Linked DNA regions of Homo sapiens: all the other regions are linked to region 1. Evidence: promoter capture Hi-C in 16 types of primary human blood cells and fetal thymus (Javierre and others, 2016). All regions are on one chromosome and are shown on one strand. Each heading gives the region's core, a stretch centred on a gene start or on the middle of the fragment in contact. The rest is flanking DNA. Distances are from core to core; before and after follow the strand shown. Region 1 holds the start of DPH2 (diphthamide biosynthesis 2). Region 2 overlaps ST3GAL3 (ST3 beta-galactoside alpha-2,3-sialyltransferase 3). Region 3 overlaps ST3GAL3 (ST3 beta-galactoside alpha-2,3-sialyltransferase 3).

Evidence for each region. Contacts are between HindIII fragments. The CHiCAGO score rates a contact against its expected background, and 5 or more counts as called.
Region 2: a contact is called between a fragment that was not itself captured here and the fragment with the promoter of DPH2 in region 1, in 1 of 17 cell types (M2 macrophages). The highest score is 5.7, in M2 macrophages.
Region 3: a fragment that was not itself captured here is called in contact with the fragment with the promoter of DPH2 in region 1 in 4 of 17 cell types (endothelial precursors, monocytes, M2 macrophages and 1 more); the score reaches 7.5 in endothelial precursors.

Annotation. Positions count from the first base shown.
Region 1 is chr1:43,966,970-43,972,014 of GRCh38, reverse strand. DPH2 (diphthamide biosynthesis 2) reads right to left here and starts at 2,005. Exons shown (of 6, transcript NM_001384.5): 1 at 1,693-2,005; 2 at 1,307-1,419; 3 at 826-1,049; 4 at 1-628. The coding sequence starts at 1,839. It overlaps IPO13 (importin 13), which reads right to left. Exons shown (of 20, transcript NM_014652.4): 18 at 4,996-5,045; 19 at 4,519-4,700; 20 at 3,993-4,429. The coding sequence ends at 4,333. RefSeq lists enhancers at 1-332, 118-662, 663-1,209, 1,695-1,974. The HindIII fragment of the contact is 12,483 bases long and covers 137-5,045 here.
Region 2 is chr1:43,740,657-43,745,701 of GRCh38, reverse strand. The region is part of intron 2 of ST3GAL3 (ST3 beta-galactoside alpha-2,3-sialyltransferase 3); the gene reads right to left. Among named protein-coding and RNA genes, the nearest start is that of ST3GAL3-AS1, 16 kb to the right of the region's middle. The HindIII fragment of the contact is 1,480 bases long and covers 2,138-3,617 here.
Region 3 is chr1:43,766,182-43,771,226 of GRCh38, reverse strand. The region is part of intron 2 of ST3GAL3 (ST3 beta-galactoside alpha-2,3-sialyltransferase 3); the gene reads right to left. Among named protein-coding and RNA genes, the nearest start is that of ST3GAL3-AS1, 41 kb to the right of the region's middle. RefSeq lists an enhancer at 3,803-4,338. The HindIII fragment of the contact is 3,242 bases long and covers 1,427-4,668 here.

The DNA.
Region 1 (5,045 bases), core at 756-3,255:
GCAGGGTTGCAGGCAGCTTCCAGCTCACATGGTGCCAGTATAGGCTGGAAGAAGCTACCAGAAAGCTGGGGGGCTAGAGCACCCAGAGGACAGGCTAATAGCACAAAGACATCCACCTCAGGGAAGTTGGCAAGCTTGGCAGGGGTGGGCCGCCCCAGGGCCAACACATAGCTACGCTTGCCAGCAGCCTGAGTCAGGTTCCGCAAGTGGGCCAGTGCCTCACGGTGTTGGGCTACACCCAGTGTGCCTGCCAGCAGCCCTACCACGCGGGCATCTCTGGCCCTCTCTACCAGATATCGTCTTCGTGCCCTTAGCCGTCCAGCCCGGGCACCCTCATCCTGAGTCTTCCCTGTATCTGGACAGCAGGAGGAGAAGGGTTGACCTGGTGCCCACCCCAAGAGCAGCCGACTCAGGTCTGGGTCAAGGTCTGGGTCAGGGCTGGCCTTAGAGCCCCCTACATAGAAGGCACCATACTCTTCTAGACGCCTCCCTGGGGCAAGGGGGAAGCGGCGCCCAAAACGCTCTAGGGGCATAGGCTCTGGACTCAGGGAACCCACTGGTTGGGGAAAAGCTGGGCTGGAGACTAGCAGGTCCAGGTACCGTGGGCGCAGGAGAGTAGCCAAAGCCTCTGGAAGAGAAGGAGGTAGTGTTGAGGTTGGAGCCTGGCAAAGCAGGAGCTCCCTCATCCCCAGGAGACTAAATATGACCCAGTAGGCTGGGGCCAAGCCCATATCAAGAGTTCTATGGATGGTATATGGAAATGGGGAAATTAAGGCATAAAGCAGTTGGCTCACCCTTTGTGCATACACAGGCAAAACCCCTTACCCAGGGCATGGGCACAGGCCGGCTCACTCAGCAGCACCACAGGCGCTTTGGGGTCTGGGTTCTGGGCCTCAAAGGCCTTGACACAGAGCTCCAAGGCCACAGAACGTTGACGAAGCACGAAGGCAACGGGCAGTGGGCGGGCTGGAGGGCTTAAGCAGGCAGGGCCAAAATGTATGAGAGCCTGAGCTCCAGCTTGCTCAGCACCCAGCACATCCACGCAGCAGCTGCAGGGAAGATAGCATCAGAGAAATGGGTTCTCTTCTGGAGGCGAGTTGCTGTCATCACTGGGAAATGTGGTCAGTGAATAAAATGGTTTCATTAAAGGAAGACATTGTCAATGAAAGGAGCTAGCATCAGAAGGGGAGTCATTACCATTATCATCAAGGAGAAACACCACCATTGAAGGCAATCACTGTCATAGACGTAAAACCCCATGAGCCCCGGATCCCCAGGCCTGGCCCACCTAAGGCCAAGTTCACACCTGCCGTAGGCTGTGTCACCCAGAATGAACATCTTTGACCCTGTCGTCTCCTCCAGTCGTGCAGCCACAGCCACAGCATCTCCCAATAGCTGGTCAGGGAACTGCAAGGCAACCTATAAGCATAAACCATGGAGTCAGGGACAGCCTCTCTCCCACTGAGGGCTTCTTTAAAGCAATCTTCCAGGAGCTCCCACTCAACCTTCAAAGCCCCTGGTCCCAGAGGGGCACTCTGCCCCACGTAGTAGGTGGAAGGGAGGGATGGTCAACGCGCTGCGGACAGACTGATTCCCCCACCCTCTCGCCCTCACAAAATCCCCCAAGATCCGGATCCTCTGGGCGACCCATCCCGACAGAGGCGAGCCACCCTTCCCTAAGTCTGTCCTCACTCGTTCACACCCCAGGTCGCGGACAAATCCAGCGACTCGCTCCAGCTCGTACACTCCGTCCAGGTCCGGAAGAGGAGTAAGCAGTCCTGGCACCCCGGTCTCTCGCTGCAGCGCCGCCTCGGCAGGGCTGCTAAACATCGACTCCATGAGGCACAGCTTGGGTGGTGGGATGCAGCGGGGACCTCCCTGGGACAGCTTCGGGGCCTGAGTCCTCTAGAGCAGCCCTCAGGGGGTCAAAATCGCCTTGTGGGGGTAGGGGGAATCACAGTCGGCCTTCAGCCGGTGAGTATCCCCTTCAGCCATCCTAACTACTGTTTCTCCGCTACACGTGGGACTACCGGGGAGGTTACTTCCGGGTTTTAGAGGCGTGGCTGATAGCGATTTTGCCAATCCTAAGTCAGCACAGCTCCCGCCCTCCAATCCCCGCCACCGCCCCGCACAGAGAACCAATGTTCAGCCTGAGTCCCAGGCCAGCCGGAAGTACATCGAGGAAGGCGCGGAGCCTTGTGGGCATTGTAGTTCCCCTGGCCTCCTCTCGGGCGCTGGGAGTCCGGTTCAGCCGACCCGCGGCCATCAGGAACACCGACTTCACTGTTAAGCATTTCACGTGCACTCTATCCTCTGGGCAGTATCACTGCATAATTCTTTCATTCATTCATTTTTTTTTTTTTTTGACAAGGTCTCGCTATGTTGCTTGGACTGGAGTGCAGTGGCGCGATCTCCACAACCTTCACCTCCTGGACTGAAGCCATCCTCCCACCTCTGCCTCTTGAGTAGTTGGGGCTACAGGCGCACCACCACATCCAGCTAATTTTTGTATTTTTTGTAGAGACAGGTTTTTGCCATGTTGCTCAGACTGGTCACAAACTCCTGAACTCAAGCAATCCACTCATCTCGGCCTCCCAAAATGCTGAGAGTACAGACGTGAGCCACCGTGCCCGGCTACACTGCATAATTTTAAACTTGGTGCCGACCGGCTCGGGTTTGAATATTGTGCTTGGTCACTTGCTACTGAGTATCTTAGGAATGTCCCTATGCCCATTTCCTTATCTGAAGAATGGGGAGTTGTGACAATAGTACCTCTTAATAAGATTGTTGTGAGGGTCTAATTAATTTATATACAAAACTTTACAAAGTAGTTCTTTGGATATCGCATGCAGTGAAAGCATTTGCTATTTAATCAGCCAAATACTGAGCACTTACTGTACATTAGGCACTTCATTTTTAGTGTTTACAGTCTTTGGAGTAAGAATTATCCCGAGTGGTACCAAGGACATGACTGGCACATCCTCAAGTCACAGGAGATGCTCTGCACAGCTCCAGCCATCCTCAAACACTGCTGCTTCCCAGCAATACCCCCAGTGCATACCACATAGACCTCTACCCTCCAGCCCCTCACATCCCCTCTACTCCCCATGTTTACTTATATGCAAACACCCCCACATGCAACATCACTTGAAATGCCCTCCTTACATACCTCTGTCAGATACGGAAACTGAGGTTCAAAGAGACTACTTGTGTAATAAGACACTAATTCTGTGGCACAACCAGCATCAAACCCGGATCTATTGAACAGGGAAGGAGTGGGATGAATGTGGGAGTAACGAGTTCCCCATCACCCACAAGGAGATTGAAAGCTCAAGGGTAAAAGTGGGGAGAACTCATTCTGCTCTTCAGATCTTACTGAGGAGAAGCCTGGGGTACCTGAGAGGCAGCCTAGGTGAAACTATAGCTGAGGAGACAGAAAGGGAGGCAACACTGCTAAGGGAGAAAAGCAAGAATAGGTCAGGAGCTGTCCCTGGTGCTGATTGATCCCTGACCATCCTGTGCTGGAGGTCCTGTGTAAGCGGGGAGCAGCGGACATATGGACAACCTTAGGTCCTACTTTCCTCTTTTCTCCTCTGCGGCTGAGATATCTTCTCTCCTTCACCTCCCTGCCACCCACCCACCCCCCAATACACACACACTCAGCCCCTTTCTATAGCCCTCCTCAACCATATGCAAGTTCGATGTTGTATAACTCCACACCAGAAACCCCTCCCGGAAGTCAAAACTCCACTCCATTTCTTCCTTCCTAAACGGACCCAGCCCTACCCCACTTGCAGCCCAAAGTCTCAAGTCCTCTACCTAGAAAGCCTACTATTCCTGTCAAAAACTTTCTCCATGCAGCCTTCCCTCACTTCCTACCATTCTCCATGGTAGCTATGGACTAGATCAACCTTTGTTCAGGGCAGAACGACGCAGGACAGAGCTAGGGGCCTAATATTCGGCGGTGTTGATTAAATAAATGTATGCATACATGCATGTTGGGATTAATTTAATGGGGATGGGGGGGTTGATGACACTACTGCAACCACCCCGCCCCAAGGACAATGACAGTATTCTGAAGGGCTCCAGCCTAGGTGGCTTGGCTACAGTAGTATCTCTTCCAACCTGGGAGCTAGAGGATGTTCCCACCATTCCCTCCCAAGGCCTGGGTCCAAGCATCCTCCCATCCTTCCCCCAGGCCTTCTGGACCCAGGCTTTCAGTTAGGTGGTGGTGACAGCAGAAAGGAGGCAGAGACAGCAGTGAGGGTCCAGGTTTACTCTTTGGGAATAGGGAAGGATGAAGAGAAGGGGTGGATGGGATGGGGGCACCCCTCAGTAGTCAGCTGTGTAATCTGTGCCATGGAGACCCCGGCACAGCAGTGTGAACTCCTTCACCATCTCCTTCACCCGCCTCTTGTTCACTCGCTCGCTGAAGGAGAAAAGGGAGAGCAGGTTAGCACCAGCCACCACCACTGCCCCCTCTCTGCCTGACCCCAGGCCCACCCCAGCTCTGCTCACCGAAGGATCTGCTGGCTGAAGGTATCCTTCTGTTCAGGGCTGAGGCGGGCAGAGGGGAAACCAGGTGGCTGCAGGGCCTCCTTGATCCACATGCTCAGGAGGCTGAAGCAGTGCTTGTTCAGGGCGAACAGGATATCGGCAAAGCAGTCCATGAGGCTGCGGGAGGCCTGGCCCCCAATGGCCTGAGGGAGAGGGGTTCTCAGCACACCAGGGTGTTGCCCCTTCCGCCGCTTCTGCAGCAAGAATGCCTAACTGCCCTCTGGACAGTTCCTAAGCCAAACTGCACATCACAGTGAGCGCTGCTTTTTGAGAGCCAGCTGATCCCCACAGCAATCCTAACAACTTTCAGGCATTTAATTGAAGAAGAAACAGAATCTGAGAGCTTAGGGGACCAAAGGCTCAAGCCTCCCAGAAGGCCAGCTGCCTCAGCAGTGAGGGGCCCTCACCCCCATCAAACCCCCCTTTGCTCCGTCTCACCTCCAGCACTGCTATGAGCAGCATACGACCGTCTTCCTGTACCACCTTTC
Region 2 (5,045 bases), core at 1,628-4,127, 230 kb after region 1:
AGCCAAGATCATGCCACTGCACTCTGGCCTGGGCTACAGAGTGAGATTCTGTCTCAATCAATCAATCAAACATATCTAAACATAGAAAAGCTACAGTAAAAATATGATATTATAATCTTACGGAACCACTTTTGCATATGTGGTCTGTCACTGACCAAAATGCTGCTATGCAGTGTATGACTGTTTGTCTCTTTTTGTTGTGTTATTTAAGTAGTTGTTCTAGAGCTAACAATACTCATCCTTAACTTATCAGTCTATTTAGAGTCAGTATAATACCTCTTCAAATCTGACATTTCATATTTATTACTTTACCCTTTCCTTTTCTCACTTTATATAAAACATTCTTGTTTCCCACTTACTTCTTTTTTCACAAATATAACCTTGTACAGTAAAATTACATTTACCCATCCCCCATCCCTTATGCAAGTGTTGACATATCTTTTACCTCTACATATGTCCAAAATCTCACTTTACTGGGTTATTATTTTTGCTTTAAACAATTAGTTGTCTTTTAAGAAAGTTATGAGAAGAAGGAAAGAGAGTCATATTTGCCTACCATTTACCATTTCCAGTGGTCTTCATCTTTCCTGTATAGCCCAGTTGGCCAGGCTGATTTCAAACTCCTGACCTTAAGTCAGCCCTCCCAAAGTGTTGGGATTACAGGCATGAGCCTATTTTTCTTTCTTTCTTTCTTTCTTTTTTCTTTTTTTTCAAACACAGTTTCACTCTGTCACCCAGCCTGGAATGCAGTGGCACGATCTTGGCTCACTGCAACCTCTGTCTCCCGAGTTCAAGCGATTCTCAGGCCTCAGCCTCCCAAGTAGCTGGGATTACAGGCACATGCCATCACGCCAAGCTAATTTTTGTATTATTATTAGTAGAGATGGGGTTTCACGGTCTCAAACTCCTGACCTCAGGTGATCCCGCCTGCCTCAGCCTCCCAAAGTGCTGGTATTACAGGCATAAACCACCACGCCAGGCTATTATATTTTATTTTATTTTTTATTTTATTTTATTTATTTATTTATTTATTTATTTATTTATTTTTTGAGAGGGAGTCTCGCTCTGTCCCCCACGCTGGAGTGCAGTGGTGCAATCTTGGCTCACTGCAAGCTCACTGTTTATTTTTTAAACGAGAAGTTTATTTAAAGAAGATGATGCCGCCAGGTGTGGTGGCTCACGCCTGTAATCCCAGCACTTTGGAAGGCCGAGGCGGGCAGATCACCTGAGGTCAGGAGTTCGAGACCAGCCTGGCCAACATGGTGACATCCCGTCTCTACAAAAATTAGCTGGGCATGATGGCGGGTGCCTGTAATCCCAGCTACTCGGGAGGCTGAGGTAGGAGAATCGCTTGAACCCAGGAGGTGGAGGTCGTAGTGAGCTAAAATCACTCCACTGTACTCCAGCATGGGCGAGAGAGCAAGATTCTGTCTAAAAAAAAAAGAAGATGCTTGATTTGAAGGAAAAACTAGGATTCATTTTTAAGAGTAATTACCCGCCTTAAAGACAGACTTCTCTATATGAAACACCTACATACAAAAAATTGTAAAACTGTCTTTGGTTTTATGATGATAAATAAAAAACATTAAAATTCTCCAATCAAACAAGGTATGCAAGGATTTTTCATGTTGGCTTTTTTGTTGAAATAGTGAGAGGAAATTAAGTTACTGGAATATAAAGATAAGCATGCCACTAATGGAGAAAGAGTATTTTCACAGAACCAGTATCTTTCCCCATCCCATATCCATTTGATGGTAATCAAAACATACCATTGGCCATTTTGTTTTCTTAAAAGTACAATATGCGTGTGTACACACACCACTTACTCTACATGTAATATAGGAATGGGGGGGGGGGGAATGAAAGAATAGAGAATACTATACTGTAGTAGTCAGGATGTGGCAGAACCAAATTGCAGTTTTCTAACTGAGAATGTATTGTTGCTCTGTAAGAATGGAGTTCTGGACTAAAGTAGCAGGTTCCTTTGTAGTAGACACCTGTCTGCTACTGGAACATGGCAATGGTACTTTCATCTTCCACTTCCAGGTGTGCAGGTGTGCCTGTTTCATGGATTGGCCACCTGTCAAATGGGAATCTGATCTGCCTCACTGACAGACCCTCTCATTCACAATAAGCTTTCATTAGTTTACTAAATGGTGTATCCCTCTTAATCTTAAACTGCACCACAGAACCAATCTGCCCCACCACCTTCAAATTAGTATGATCGTTGCTCTTAAGTGTTGACACCTCTCTTGGCATTTCATGGGCCACAGGGAACACCAGAGATATCAGTTGCTGCTTCACTAAAGAGGCACCATGTCCACACCAAATGAGCTCATCAGCAGCACCAGCAGCAGCCTCTCCTTATTTTTAGATTTCAGAAGTCTAACTATGATGTACCTAGGTTTTTTCCCCCAATATTTATCTTTCTTGGGGTTGGCTCTATAAGGGGGCTCTGTTTTGGTTCTGTAAGTCAATGGTTTTCATCAAACTTAGGAAGTTTTCAGCCATTATTTATTTTTTTTTCCTTCAGATGAGTAAGTATGGGAAATTAATTTTCAAAAAATAAAATGTTATTTTTTTTCCTGCCCAATTGTCTTTTTTTTTTTTTTTGAGACGGAGTCTCGCTCTGTCACCAGGCTGCAGTGCAGTGGCGCGATCTCGGCTCACTGCAAGCTCCGCCTCAAGCAATTCTCCTGCCTCAGCCTCCCAAGCAGCTGGGACTACAGGCACGTGCCACCAGGCCCAGCTAAATTTTGTATTTTTAGTAGAGACAGGGTTTCACCATGTTGGCCAGGATGGTCTCGATCTTTCTTTCTGTGGTTCAGACTGGATAATTTCCATTGTGTTCTCTTCAAACTCATGGGCTTCTTCCGTTTTATGTAATCTGCTGTTAAGTGAAACTTCCATTTCAGTTACTACACTTTTCAGGTCTAGAATTTGCATTTGGTTCTTTTTTATAGATTCCATTTCTCTGCTGAGACTACTCATTGTTCACTACTGTATTTTCCTTTAATTATTTAAATATATTCATAATAGTTACTTTGTCTGCTAAGTGCAACACTGAGGCCATCTTATCCATAGATTTTTCTTCTTGAATATGGATATTCTCCTGTTTCTTTGCATGTCTTAGTAACTTTTTTTGAACATTAGCCACTGTGGATATTACACATAAAAACTATGAATACTGTTATCTTCCTATGAAGAGTGTCAATTTGTATTTTAGCAGATGGTTCAATGACTACCTGACGGCCCTGAATTTGTGTGGTCTTGATTTTATGCATCATGAGTGTGGATCTGAGGAAAGCCCATGGCATTTTTGACCTCTCTTGATAAGACCCAAACTTTGAAATCTGTCTTGCTGGGGGTTGGCTTTAGGCCTTGTTAGGGCGGGTCTACGGTAGATCTTACTCTTGGGTAAGATCTTTATTCATAAGGCATGGCCTGTCTGGGGTCTCAGCTGGACGCCAGGGGTGTTAACAAAGTGTTAATGAGATCTTTCTACTGGTAGGGCTGGACCATCAGCGTTCCTGGCATTGCTTTCACCCCAACAGGACTTGACCTCCAGTATCTCTTTTCTATTCATCCTGTACCAGCTGCTGTCTATATGGTAAGCTTCAGGTGGCTTCACCCCATGTATAAATAATAGGCCAGTCCTTAGCTTCAGCCTCACAGGAATGCCCCCACAGACTTCTGAGACCCTCTTGCTGAACAATTCCCTACCCTATGATGGTCCACCCCACAGATTCCAACTGCTTCAGCTGCCCAAACTCTGACCTCTGCCTCTTCAGCTCAGGGGAAATCATCACAGCCTGTTTAGACTCCACTCACAGAACAGGGTTGGGAAACCGTCCTCAGACAGAAAACTGAGCAAATGTGGCGCTCACCTCGAGTTTTCCTTCTCTTAGGAACTGAAATTTTACGCTGCCTGTTGTCTACAGGCTGACACAATTGCTTCATTTCTTTTGTCCAGTTTTATAGCTTCCTATAGAGAGGAGGCTAGTTCTGATACCACTTACTTCCTTACCATGGGAAGCAGAGTACCTCCCTAAGCCAGAGGCCAGAAACATGGCCAGAAATGCCAGCCTCCTCTTCATTTTTAAGACAGAAAACTAAGAGTTAATACAATGTCCTACGTCTATTAAACTCACTTCAACCTGTCCTCCTAATATCAGATCCAACTTCCGCTTTTGTGCCAGAGAGTATTCTCCAGGGCAATCAGATCAACAATGTGTACTTTATAATTTGAATGCATATTTTATAATTTATCTGGTTATAATCTTTTATAAATATGAGGAAGAACACAAAGGGAGCTGTAATAATTGATAAACACAGTAGCATGAATTTAATTTTTAAAACATTTTTGAGACAGGGTCTCACTCTGTCACACAGGCTGGATGGAGTACAGTGGCGTGACCACAGCTCACTGCAGCCTTGATTGACTTCCTGGGCTCAAACGATCCTCCCACCTCAGCCTCTCGAGTAGCTGGCACCATAGACATGTACCACCACATTCAGCTAATTTTTTTTATTTTTCTGTGGAGACAGGGTCTCCCTATGTTGCCTAGGCTGGTCTTGAACTCCTGGGCTCAAGCAATCCTTCCACTTCAGCCTCCAAAAGTGCTGAGATTATAGGCATGAGCCACCTCACCCAGTCATGAATTTTTAAAGGTCTCACAGCACAGGAAACTAATCCTATGAAAGATCTACTTTATTAATTAGAAATGAATTTCTTTCCTTCTTTCCTTCCTTCCTTCCTCCTTTCCTCCCTCCCTTCCTTCTTTCCTCCCTCCCTTCCTCGCTCCCTTTCTCTGTCTCTCTCTCTCCCTCTTCCTCCCTCCCTCACTCCCTCTCTCCTTCTCTTTCTCTCTCTCTCTTTCTTTCTTAAGACAAGGTTTCATGCTGTTGCCCAGGTTAGAGTACAGTGGCACAATCATAGCTCACTGCAACCTTGAAATCCTGGGCCTAAGTGATCCTCCTACCTCAGCCTCCTGAGTAGCTATACCACTCGCCGTACACGTGTGCACCACTATGCCTGGATAATA
Region 3 (5,045 bases), core at 1,798-4,297, 200 kb after region 1:
AATTTGAATATAAAATACATTCAGTTTTCATTTACATGTCAATAAGCATGTTTATTGCCCAAAGGGAAACAGCCATGACAAAATAGAGGATGAAAATGTTCAAAAGAAGGGGATAACTGATGAGGGACAAAAGAATTCCACTGGAAATGGCAACTACAGCTGGAAGAGTGAAGATCTGATTAAGGAAGGTAAGGCATGCAAAGCACTTAAACTCAATCAATGATAGCTATCTTTGTTACTTTGGAAGATAAAGCTGTAAAGACAGTCAGAGATCAGAATATGAAGGGCCTTGTAGGCCATGAGAGGACGTTCTGGATTATCTGATAGAGATCAGGGCTCAGAACTTTCTTCTGGCTCAGAGATTGAACTTCACCAGACATAATATCCTGGGTACTTGGCAAAGTACCTGGCATGCAGCAGGAATTCAGAAATGTTTGCTAAATTGAATAACTTCTCCCTTCCAAGCAATAAGAAGCAAGGCAAGATTTTATTAGATGCTTTGTTTCTAGAGTTAACAGTCAATCAACAACTATCCAAGTCTCATGTGCATCTGTAGTACTCTCAGCTACTTGGGGAGGCTGAGGCTGAAGGAACGCTTGAGCCCAGGAGTTCAAGACTAATCTGGGCAATATACTGAGACTCCATCTCAAAAAAAAGAAAAAAAACAACAACTGTCCAAGCAATTTTCACCCCTAGTCTTGCCTCCAGGACAGCTTGCTTCTTTTTCTCCTTTAAATGTAGTCTTTGAAATGTCCTATCTTTTTATCATCCTGTTTTTGTCACTAGTCCCATCTCAACAAGTCATAATGAGGTTGACCCTTCCTTCCCTCCTATGTCAGTGCTTTTAAAATCTGTTCTGTTTGTGTTTGTTAATTTACGCACACAGCTAAAAACTTGAGGCCCGTCCACTGGTCTTCTCCCTTCTACTCCTTCCCCTACTCATTCCCCTCTCCTCCCCTCCCCTCTCCTCTCCTCCCCTCCCCTCTCCTCTCCTCCCCTCCCCTCTCCTCTCCTCACTTCTCTCTGTCTCCTCTCTCTTTCATAGTTAGTCTTACAAAGACTTTTACTAGAGAATATTCTGCTTGATTCCTTGAACCATGCTTCCAGGACCCCAGCATATTTCCATTTCAAAAATCTTTTGATTATGTGCTTTCAAGTTACAGTTTAAATTATTTACTCCATGGTTCAAGTTATAGTTTAAATTATTTACTCCCTGGGATGAAAGATTGAAGTTTCAGTCCCATATTGACAATTGAGCTAATCAGTGTAATTCTGTACTCGCTTCTTTATCTATAAAATTAGAAAAAGACCATTTGCCAGACTTTATTCTACTTCAAAGACCTGTTATATGAATAAAAATGAGAGAAAAAATAAAAACAGAACTAGTACATAAAATACAACATCCTTTTATACCTAAAAACAAGCTTGAACTACTATTTTACAATGGGAATGATTTTATGCAAATATATAGTATATTACCTTTTTCTTATGTAGTTTCCCGGATGACTAATTACAGGAGTTCTCAAGATAGCAAAGAGAGTATGTGAATGAAATAAGCTAAAACACTTGAACCATCTAGTCCAGCACCTTCACGGGGTAGGAACTGAATAAATGTTAGGCCCCTTTCCTTTGCTTCTCTTTCCTACCTTCCCTATTACCAGATATTATATTTAGTCAATATGTGTTGAAAAAAAGAAACGAACACAGGAACCCAAGGCATGACAAGGCTTCTTCCCAAATGTCTCCCAAGCCCATGCCCTCCCCTCCCCATCCTGCTACTTCCTCGGTTAAGATTTTCATCATGGGTTTTTCTTGCCTCAGTGCACCAGGCTAGGCATTCAGCTCAATATTAGAAAAAAAGTGGTTTGGGAATGTTCTTGTCTTGTTCCTGATCTTGAAGGGAAAACTTTCAAAATTTCACCCTTAAAATATTTGCTTGAGTTTTACGAACAGATACCCTTTTTCAGATGAAAGCTCTCTGCTAGTCCTAGTCTGCTAAGCAGTTCCAGCATCAACACATGCTGAATTTTATTAAATGCTTGTTCTGTATCTACTGAAATGTTTTTCTTTTTAATCTAATAAAAATCTATTTAACCTATGAATGTGATTAATTACACTGATGAATTTCTCTAACGTTACATCAACCATGTATATTAGGATAAGCCCAACTACTAGATGGTGATCTATTATCTTTTTTATATATTGTGGAATTTGCTAAATGTCTGTTGAGGATTTTTACATTTATATTTTTAGGTAGCTTGGCCTTTAATCTTCCTTTCTTGAGTTTGTCTTTCTTCAGTTTTGGTATCAAGGTTATGCTAGTCTCAAAAAAATGAGTAAGGAGTGTCCCTCTTTTTCAGTTCTCTGGAACTGTTTGAACAAAGCTGGAATTAATTATTCTTTTCAATCTGCTGAAGAAATCTCCAGTGAAGCCCTCTGGGTTTGAAGTTCTCTGGGGAGAAAGATTTTGGATTATTGATTCCATTGGTTTAAAAAGTTTATAGGATTCTAAGGTTTTCCATGATGTCTTGAGTCAGTTTTAGTCGGATATTATTCTAGAAATGGATCTATTTTCACAAAATTCTCAGGACTTTTGGCATAAAATTGTTCATACAGCCTCTTTTTATCTTTTTCAAGCCTATAGCTCCTGTAGTGTGGTCTCCCTTCCTGTTCCTGGCATTGTTCACTGGCACTTGTGCTTCAATTTCTCTCCTCCCTGACCTCCACAATCAGTCTTGCCAGAAGTCTGTCAATTTTAATTTTGAAAAATTTATTTTTTATTTTTAGAGATGGGGTCTTGCTCTGTTGCCCAGACTGGAGTGCAGTAGTGTGATCATATCTGACTGCAGCCTTGAACACCTGGGCTCAAGTGAGTCTCCTGCTTCAGCCACCTGGAGTAGCTAGGACTGCAGGCATGTACCACCACACCCAGCTAATTTTAAAAAAAATTTTTTTGTAGAGACAGGCTCTTGCTGTGTTGTCCAGGCTGGTCTCAAACTCCTGGCCTCAAGTGATCCTCAAATACTGGCCTCTCAAAGTGCTGGGATTATAGGCATGAGCCACTGTGCCCAGCATTTGTCAATTTTATTAATCTTTTTTTAAAAAAACTTGCTCCTTGGAAAAGTATGTTAATCTTTTGAAAGAACAAATTTTTGACTTTGTTGATCCTCTGTATTTTTTTTTCTTTTTCATCAAACTATTATTTTCTGTTTTCCTTCTTTGGGTTTAATGTGCTCTACATTTTCTAACTTCTTGAAATTGATGTTTAGATTACTAATTTTTTTCAACCTTCGGTTATTTTTCTAACATGCATTAAAGTCTACAAACTTCCCTCTATGCTTATAGGTTATAGTAGCATCATACAAGTTTTGACAAGTTTTGATATTTTCTTTTTTTTTTTTTAATTATACTTTAAGTTCTGGGATACATGTGCAGAACGTGCAGGTTTGTTACATGGGTAAACACGTGCCATGGCGGTTTGCTGCACCCATCAACCCATCATCTACATTAGGTATTTCTCCTAATGCTATCCTTCCCCTACCCCCCCACCCAAGTTTTGATATTTTCAGTATCATGCAATTCAAAATATTTTCTACTTCCCATGATTTTTTCTTTGACCCAATGATTATTTACAAATTCATTTCTTAATATTCTAGTTATCTTTTTGTTATTCATTTCTAGCTTAATTTCACTGTGGTCAGAGGATTGATTCTGCATGTGATCAATCCTCTGACACTTGTTGAGACTTGCTTTAGGTATGGTCTGTGGCTTCCCCTTCATTTACCTGATGAAGTCTAAACTGTTCCCTGTTCACTGTGACATATAAAGAAGGACCTTTGTGACCTGACTCATTACCTACCTGCCCAGGGAGTACCATCCCCCAGAGACTCTATATGCCAGCCACATCCATCTTCCCCTGGTTTTCACTCATGCCATGCCTTGCACTCTTGCGCCTCTATCCATAATCTTCCCTCTGCCTTTCTGCTCCTCCTAGCCCTCCCTACTCAGCTCAGATGTTACCTCCACCACAAGGCCTTTCCAAGCATCTGTCCGTCCCTGAAACTCCTCAAGTGGTGAAGTGCTGTGGCTATTGGTATCCCTACCTCTTTTCTTTCTCTCGCAATCTAGCCTCCACACAGCTGCCAAAGTGAGCCTTCTAAAATGCAAATCCGACCACATTTCTCTCTCTCCTTTTCATCAGCTGCTTCCGCCTAACTCAGAATCCAAACTCTGCATTCCACACAAGACTCTCCCAGCCCTTTTCCAGGCCCCTCCACTTTATTCATGCTACTATCACTGCCTAGAATGCACTTCTCATCTTATTCATTCATCTTTCAAGTCCAGGCTTGAGAGTCACTTCCTCTTATTTTGCTGAGGGAATAAAGGAACACAACCTCCCATTTTAAATTCTAGGTGCTCAACAGAAATTCCAGAAGAGACCTCTGTGTTGTTAATTTTCCTTCACACAAAAGTCCAGAACACTACTTTTCCACCAGGTCTTTCCATTAAGGGTAGAAGCCTTTAATGGCCCTGCTGCATTAAATCTAAACTCCACACCTCACCTTAGGGCCTTCTGTCATCGACTCTGCCCTGCTCTGCAATCCTCGGTCTCACTACTCCCCGCCCCCCACCATTCCTCACAAGCCGCTCTCAGCTCTCACTGAAGCTTACAAAATATTTCGAGTACTCTGTCTGCTAGAGCACTTTCCCAGGTCCCCACATGTCCTACCCCAACCGCCAGGTCCCTGCTTCAGTGCCCATCTCTTCCTCAAAGCTTTCCTTGACATCACTTCTTATTTATTTACTTATTTTTTTTTAAATCGCCACTTCTTTGTTGTCTCTGAAACACTTCATCTCATTGTCTTGTCCTTGGTTACTTCCTGTGAGTCTCAGCTTTCAGTCTTTAAAATTCCCAGGCCCAGGCACCTCTCTTCCTAAATGCCCCACACTGCCTGGAATAAAGCTGAGTAAGTAACAAGCTGTCAGTCAGCAGTAATCCTCATAGACTGACAGAAGAAGTCATTGATATCTCTCCCTTGGCCTCT